Linked DNA regions of Homo sapiens: regions 1 and 3 are each linked to region 2. The links are contacts of gene promoters, found by promoter capture Hi-C in human tissues and cell types (Jung and others, 2019). All regions are on one chromosome and are shown on one strand. The core of a region is centred on a gene start or on the middle of the fragment in contact, and the rest is flanking DNA. Distances in the headings are between cores, read along the strand shown.

What was found. The method cuts DNA at HindIII sites, captures the fragments that hold promoters and counts their contacts. A contact is called where the count stands out against the background at its distance.
Region 1: a fragment that was not itself captured here is called in contact with the fragment with the promoter of ANKRD26 in region 2 in 1 of the 25 tissues and cell types used here (spleen).
Region 3: a contact is called between a fragment that was not itself captured here and the fragment with the promoter of ANKRD26 in region 2, in 1 of the 25 tissues and cell types used here (spleen).

Annotation. Positions count from the first base shown.
Region 1 is chr10:26,876,698-26,879,401 of GRCh38, reverse strand. No RefSeq gene overlaps it. Among named protein-coding and RNA genes, the nearest start is that of ABI1, 17 kb to the right of the region's middle. The HindIII fragment of the contact is 4,104 bases long and covers 1-2,704 here.
Region 2 is chr10:27,099,196-27,101,929 of GRCh38, reverse strand. It overlaps ANKRD26 (ankyrin repeat domain containing 26), which reads left to right and starts at 1,436. Exons shown (of 34, transcript NM_014915.3): 1 at 1,436-1,845. The coding sequence starts at 1,604. RefSeq lists a silencer at 1,590-1,769 and an enhancer at 1,940-1,999. The HindIII fragment of the contact is 17,734 bases long and covers 1-2,734 here.
Region 3 is chr10:27,247,225-27,249,924 of GRCh38, reverse strand. It overlaps the pseudogene LRRC37A6P. Among named protein-coding and RNA genes, the nearest start is that of ACBD5, 7.8 kb to the right of the region's middle. The HindIII fragment of the contact is 5,017 bases long and covers 1-2,700 here.

The DNA.
Region 1 (2,704 bases), core at 163-2,662, 220 kb after region 2:
TGGGTACCAAGTTTCACTTCGGGAAAAAGGTGGTGATGGTTGCAATAACAGTAAATATACTCAATACCACTGGACTGGATACTTATAAAATGTTAAAATGGTCATTTTCATTTTTGTGTTATATATATTTTACCATAACAGCAAAAATTAACTTTATAAAGTTATATGCTGTTGGAAACTCTGGAAACAGTGGGAAAAGGGGGAAATTCTATTACATAAAAATTAATTTTGCAATGCAGATCTTTTTTTGATAACTCAAGCTTTTGTTTATTTCAATAAAGCCAAATCCAGTAAACTATTTTCAGCCAGGATTAGTCAGAACTAAAAGGTTGGACTGTTTTCCTTCAGAAACTGAATGTTTTTCTTGCCTGCAATAGGCTGGTGTGTTCCAAATAATAATGGAATTGTCCTCAAAACCAGAAAATACTGGTTCGTATATATTTTAGGGCCTGTTTCTGAATTTTCTATTCTTTTGTTCTTATCTCTTTAACTATTTATGTACCATTACCAAGCCATTTTAATTATAGTAGCACTTAAATTGTTTTAATAACATACAGGGCTAGATTTCCTTGTGTAAAATAAAAACTATTTATTGCAATATTGTGGTGATAGTCGAGGATTAAAAACAATTTAAATGTCTTTCAACATGAGACTGACTGAATAATTATGACCAGTGGAATAGCACGAAAAATAATGGGGAAGTTTTTAATGTTTGATATAGAATGATCTCCAGAATATATGGTTAAATGGACAAAAAAGCGGCTGGGTACAGTGGCTCATGCCTATAATCCCAGCACTTTGGGAGGCCAAGCCGGGTGATCACCTGAGGTTGGGAGTTTGAGACCAGCTTGGCCAACATGGTGAAATCCCTGTCTCTACTAAAAATAGAAAAATTAGCCAGGCATGGTGGCGTGCACGTGTAATCCCAGCTACTCTGGAGGCTAAGGCAGGAGAATTGCTTGAACCCAGGAGGCAGAGGTTGCAGTGAGCCGAGATCAAGCCATTGCACCCCAGCCTGGGTGACAGAGCGAGACTCCATCTAAAAAAAATACTTTCTATCAGAAGTGCTTACATTTCTTGAACACTCACCTTTTTTTTTTTTAGACTGGGGTCTCACAGTGTTGCCTAGGCTGGTCTTGAACTTCTGGGCTCAAGTGATCTACCTGCCTCAACCTCCCAAAGTGCCAGGATTACAGGCATAAGCCACTGAGCCCAGCCTCTGAGCACTCACTTTTAAAAATGTATTTATTTTAATTTATTTATGTGTATTTTTTATATTTATTTATTTATTTATTTTTGAGACGGAGTCTTGCTCAGTCAACCAGGCTGAGTGCATTGGCACCATCTCAGCTCACTGCAACCTCCGCCCCCCATGTTCAAGCGATTCTCCTGCCTCAGCCTCCCGAGTAGCTGGGATTACAGGTGCCTGCCACCATGCCAGGCTAATTTTTGTATTTTTAGTAGAGACAGGGTTTCGCTATGTTGGCCAGGCTGGTCTCGAACGTCCGACCTCAGGTGATCTCCCCGCCTTGGCCTCCCAAAATGCTGGGATTACAGGCATGAGCCATCTCGCTGGGCCTAAATGAGTGTTGTGCTAACTACTTTACGGTATTATCTATATTATTTCATTTATTGTTTACAAGACATAGGTAAGTCCTGGCAAAATTATACACCTTGCCCAGGGTCACACAGGTGTGGATAGTTAAGCTTAGATTTAAAAGAAATGAGCGAGTTAGGCACGGTGGCTCATGCCTAGAATCCCAGCACTTTGGAAAGCCAGGGAGGGAGGATCTCTTGAGCCCAGGAGTTTGAGACCAGCCTGGACAACACAGTGAGACTCTGTCTTTACAAAACATTTAAAAATTAGCTGGGTGCAGTGACTCTAGCCTATGGTCCTAGCTACTAAGAAGGCTGAGGTGGGAGGATTGCTTGAGTCCAGGAGGTTGAGGCTGCAGTGAACTATGATTGGATCACTGCAGTCTACCCCGTGTGACAGAGGGAGACCCTGTCTCAAAAAACAAACATACAAAAAAAGAGCAAATAAGGGATGGCACTTCCAGAACAGTGGAGTAGACACCTTCAAAGACCATGGAAGCAATGAGAACACTGGCAAAAATTGCAAAAGTCATCTTTTTCAAAACGTTGGAAATTAAGGCTTGCAATAATCTGAGCAGCATTGATTCAAGAAAAACATCTGAATCTCAGTAAAAACAGGAAGCTTTTTATATTTTAACTTCTCTTACTCTTATCCTTCTCTCCCCAGCTTCACAGTAGCCCTGAAGGTGAACTTGACAATCATGGTAGCTATGAAAAGCAGCAGCATAACAGTTATTTGAGAGGGAGGAACAGGTTTGGTGTAAACCCCCAAACTCTAATCTAAAGAGAATTGTCACAATTTTACCTGACTGAAGGCTCCTGGGAAAGATCCCATTCTCAGGACTCACCTTTATTTGACCAATACATTCCTATCCTCAGGACATTTGTCAAAACCAATCAGTGGCAATGATTTGCAATTGAAGTGACTGAGGCAGTGATACCAATCTGGCAAATAAAAAGCTGAATCAGAAACTTAAAAGGAGACCAGCCTGGACAACATGGTGAGATCCTGTCTCTAAAAAAAAAAAAAAGACAGCTGGGTGTTGTGGTATGCACCTGTAGTCCCAGCTATCCAGGAGGCTGAGGCAGGGCTTGAGCCTAGGAGTTC
Region 2 (2,734 bases), core at 187-2,686:
GTTTCTCCTGCCTCAGCCTCCCGAGTAGCTGGGACTACAGGCATGCACCACCACACCCAGCTAATTTTTGTATTTTTAGTAGAGACGGGGTTTCACCACGTTGGCCTGGTCTCGAACTCCTGACCTCAGGTAATCCACCCACCTCGGCCTCCTAAAGTGCTGGGACTTGACTAGCTTCATAGATCACCTTGGGGAGTGTTGAGGAGACAACATAACTTTCTAGCTGGGGTAGTGTAGGAGGAAAATTCTTGGTGACGATAGTGGAAACCACTCTCCCACATCAAAACCATTTGATCTAGCTAAGCTGGAGAGGCCTGAGAAGTGTTGTTTTGTTTTTGCTCATTTCTCACTTGGCAATAAAGACGCCTGTTCTGGGGCCAGCCACCTCCTCCACAAGGGACCCTAGAGCTGTCCAGAGCTATGGAGGTGCATTCCAGCAGCAATTTCTGCTGAGACTCCACTTGACGTCTGCGTTGCTAATTCCAATTTGTTGTCAAATTATTCAATCTAGGCTGGGCGTGGTGGTTCACACCTGTAATCCCAGCACTTTGGGAGGCTGAGATGGGAGCATCATTTGAGCCCTGGAGTCGGAGACCAGCCTGGGCAACATGGTGAGACCCTGTCTCTACAAAAAATGCAAAAATAGCCGGGCGTGGTGGCTTGCGTCTGTAGTCTCAGCTACTCACTCAGGAGGCTGAGGTGGGAGTATCGTTGAGCCCAGGAGGTGGAGACTGCAGTGAGCCGTGATTGCACCACTGCACTACAGTCTGGGCGACAAAGCGAGACTCTGTTGGGGAAAAAAAAAAAAAAAAGAAGAAAGAGATGTAACCTTGGAAAATCAAAAGCAAAAAATAAAACATAAGGCTGGGCCAAAGGCAGAGGGGTGGGGGAAGGAGGCATGCAGAAATGCGTTCTCATTTCTTCTGGAGAATGTGCATTGGTTTCTCCTCGTAAGTTTGCACTTGACACATATTGCCACGATCTCCGAAATCCTGTGCCCTCTGCACTTGACACATATGCCACGATCTCCGAAATCCTGTGCCCTCTGTTGTTGCATCTGTTAAGTTCTCATGGAGACCAGATGGCACCCAAAGGGACATGGAAGGGGAATAAACTGAGAGATAGGGAGATTCAGAGAGTTTCTTAGGGGAGTTTTCTCGGAGAAGAGGCTTTCAGCATCTTAAAACTCCACGCTACTCCAGTCCCAGTCATGCGTAAAGGCTGCTTCCCCACAGGCGCGAGGCTTCTTTTCGCAAACGTCCTGAACACTCAGCCAGACTCCCACCGACATTTGTTTGACAGGAACGCAGGGCTCGTCCCAGTCGCCGAGATTTGCGAGGTCTGGGCCTTGCACATGCGCATGGAGCACACTTGACCACTGGGCCTTCGTGCGCACGCGCGTGGACCTTGCCATCTGAGGTGCGCATGCGCACTTGTGTCTAGCGGGATCGCTTGCTTGGTAACCCGGAGGGAGAGATTGGAAACCGCGGAGTTTCCTTTGGGAGGCTGCGGCCAGCCGGGGCTGACTTGTTATGTTGGGCTCCGGAGGCCGTTAAGAGCCGAGAGAGACATGAGGTGTCTCTGAAGCCCGGTCGCCTGGGCCATGAAGAAGATTTTTAGTAAGAAGGGCGAGTCGCCCTTGGGCTCCTTCGCGCGGCGGCAGAGGAGCAGCGCGGGAGGCGGGGGCGAGCCGGGGGAGGGCGCCTACTCGCAGCCCGGCTACCACGTCCGAGACCGAGATCTCGGCAAGATCCACAAAGCTGCCAGCGCGGGTAATGTGGCGAAAGTGCAGCAGATCCTTTTGCTCAGGAAGAATGGCTTGAACGATAGAGACAAGATGAACAGGTAATAGGCGTCGCAAGCCCGGACTGAGTGCCACTGGAGTAGGCGGGCAGGAAGAGGGGCCCCTTTTGTGGGAGCCACCCAGGGCCTGGATCAGCCTCCCGCGGGCTCCGTAGCCCCTGGGACGGTGACACCTTGCAGGGCTCCAGCGCCCAGGCCGCCTTTCTGAGCAGAAAAACAAAAACAGAACTCTAGCTGGTTTCCGATCCCCCCGAAATCCCTTAGAGAGCACTTAAGTGACAATTTTAAAGTGAATTAACGAACAAAAGCACGTACAGCGTTTTATTTTTAATGTACACATTTAAGATACAATGTCATACACTTATGGAAAGGTGCATAATGAGATAAGCAGTTTCCATAATATAGCAACTTCTGGGTTAAAAATTATTTCTATAAAATCTGTTATTCGTCAGGCGCGGTGGCTCGCGCCTGTAATCACAGCACTTCGGGAGGCTGAGGCGGGAGGATTGCTTGAGGCCAGGAGTTCAAGGCCAGCCTGGGCATTATAGCGAGACCCCCCCCCCCAACTCTAATAGTCTCAGCTACTTGGAAGGCTGAGGCAGGAGCATCACTTGAGCCCAGGAGTTCTAGGCTGCAGTGAGGTATGTCAGTGACAACAGAGCAAGACCCTATCTTTCAAAAAGAAAAAGAAATAAAATGCCTTTAGGAAATAGATATACAAGTAATTTGTTTTTCTCAGCATTGCTTAAGCAGTGTATTAAGGAGAACCCATAGAATGGATTTTGTGAATAAATGTCAGTGCATGATAATATGTGACCATTGAAAGTGGCAGTAGAGGCCAGGCGTGGTGGCTCGCGCCTGTAAACCCAGCATTTTAGGAGACCAAGGCAAGCGGATATCCTGAGGTCAGAAGTTCGAGACCAGCTTGGCC
Region 3 (2,700 bases), core at 35-2,534, 150 kb before region 2:
GCAGGAGGCCCCAGCTGAGACTCCAGAGCTCCCTAATGTAGTTGTAGCTCAATCTCCGGAACATTCAAACCTGACTCAAGCCACAGTTCAACCTTTGGACCTGGGGCTTACCATCACTCCAGAATCCACAACAGAAGTTGAACTTTCTCCAACCATGCAGGAGACCCCAACTCATCCTCCTAAGAAAGTTGTACCCCAACTTCCAGTATATCAAGAGGTTACAATTCCAACACCAGGTCAGGATCAGGCTCAGCATCCAATGTCACCCAGCATTACAGTTCAACCTTTGGACCTGGGACTTACCATCACTCCAGAACCCACTACGGAGGTTGGACATTCTACACCCCTGAAGAAGAATGTAGTTCCTCCAAAGCACCCTAAGGTGACACTTCCACATCCAGACCAGGTTCAGACTCAGCATTCAAACCTGACTCAAGCCACAGTTCAACCTTTGGATTTGGGGCTTACCACCACTCCAGAATCCACAACAGAGATTGAACCTTCTGCAGCCCTGACGACTACAGCTCCTCCTCCAGAACACCCTGAGGTGACACTTCCACCTTCAGACAAGGGTCGGGCTCAGCATTCAAACCTGACTCAAGTCACACTTCCACCTCTGGACCTGGAGCTTACCATAACTACAGAACCTACTACAGAGGTTAAACCGTCTCCAACCACGGAGGAGACCTCAACTCAGCCTCCAGACCTGGGGCTTGCCATAACTCCAGAGCCCACTACAGAGACTGGACATTCTACAGCCCTGGAGAAGACTACAGCTCCTCATCCAGACCAGGTTCAGACTCTGCATCGAAAACTGACTGAAGTCACAGGTCCACCTACTGAACTAGAACCTACTCAGGATTCACTGGTGCAGTCTGAAAGTTACGCCCAAAATAAGGCTTTAACCGCACCAGAGGAACAGTAGGCCTCCACAAGCACCAACATATGTGAGCTCTGTACCTGCGGAGGTGAGACGCTGTCGTGTATTGATCTCAGCCCAAAACAGAGGCTCTGCCAAGTGCCTGTGCCAGAGCCCAACACCTACCATGGCACCTTCACCATCTTAAATTTCCAAGGAAACTATATTTCTTACATTGATGGAAATGTATGGAAAGCATACAGTTGGACCGGGAAACTAATTCTCAATGAAAATTATTTGACTGAATTACATAACGATTCATTTAAAGGCCTGCTATCCCTCCAGTATTTAGATTTATCCTGCAATAAAATACAGTCTATCGAAAGACATACATTTGAACCACTACCATTTTTGCAGTTTATAAATCTTGGTTGCAATTTACTCACAGAACTGAGCTTTGGAACATTTCAGGCCTGGCATGGAATGCAGTTTTTACACAAGTTAATTCTCAATCGCAATCCTCTGACAACTGTTGAAGATCCATATCTCTTTAAATTGTCAGCATTTAAATATCTAGACACGGGAACAATGCAAGTCCCACTTACAACAATTGAGAACATTCTCGTGATGACTGTTGAACTGGAGAAACTGATCTTACCTAGCCATATGACCTGCTGCCTCTGCCAATTTAAAAATAGCACTGAGGCTGTCTGCAAGACAGTCAAGCTGCATTGCAGCAGTGCATTTCTGACAAACACCATACATTGTCTGAAGAAGCATCTGTAGAGAATCCAGGAGTGTTCATGAAGGTGTTACAAGCCCAGAAGAAGCACACGAGCACTGAGCTGACTATTGAGCCGGAGGCAGCCTCAGACAGCAATGGCATCAATTTGTCAGGCTTTGGGAGTGGGCAGCTAGACACCAATGATGAGAGGGATGTTATCAGTGCACTAAGTTACATCTTGCTTTATTTCTCAGCGGTAAATCTAGATGTGAAATCAATGTTGTTACCCTTCATTAATCTGCTTTCTTCAAATGTGCAAGATGGAGATAGGCTCCTGGGTATTTTGAATAACAATACAAAGAGCCCCTCTCTTCAACCTGCATCCAACAACTCAACTTATGAAAATAAATTGAGAAAGCTGTATTTGCTGGAAAGTATGTTAGATGCAGAAATACAAGAAAAAATTGATGAAGTTAAAAGGGAAGAAAAAACTGCCATGCTTATGCAGTCCAGCCTTCTAGGTAACAAATTTAAATGCCAAATATTTGAAAAGAAATTAGAAACTATCTAACCACAGGAAAGCAGCCTGGCAAAGATTCAAAGTGTAGGCAAAAACCTGCAGAGAGTGAACAGAGTCCTCATGGGCCCAAGGAGCATCTTGAAAAGGCACTTCAAAGAGGTGGAAAGCAGAGGATCAGGAGGGAACAGGGTGCCCAGGCATTTGCAGAGAACGCTGCCAAAGAAAAAAGGCTCGGGAGTCCAGCCCCAAGGGAGCTGAGACAGCCTCACATAGAGCAGGGGCCTGACAAGTTAGTGGGAAACACCATCTACACCAAGCCTTCATTCATCCAAGAGCATAAGGCCGCAGTCTCCTCTGTGCTGAAACCCTTCTCCATGGGTGTGCCTTCTGCCTCCACCCCTGCAAAAGCCCTACCTCAGGTCAGAGACAGAGCAAAAGACTTAACCTACACCATTTTCATTTTAGAAAATGCAAAGGCTAGAGTTAAAAATATGAAGGCTGCTAAACCAATCGTACATTCCAGAAAAAAATACTGCTTTCATAAAACTTGCTCCCGCATGGCCCACAGAACACTCAAGGCCAAAAAGAGTCCAAAGT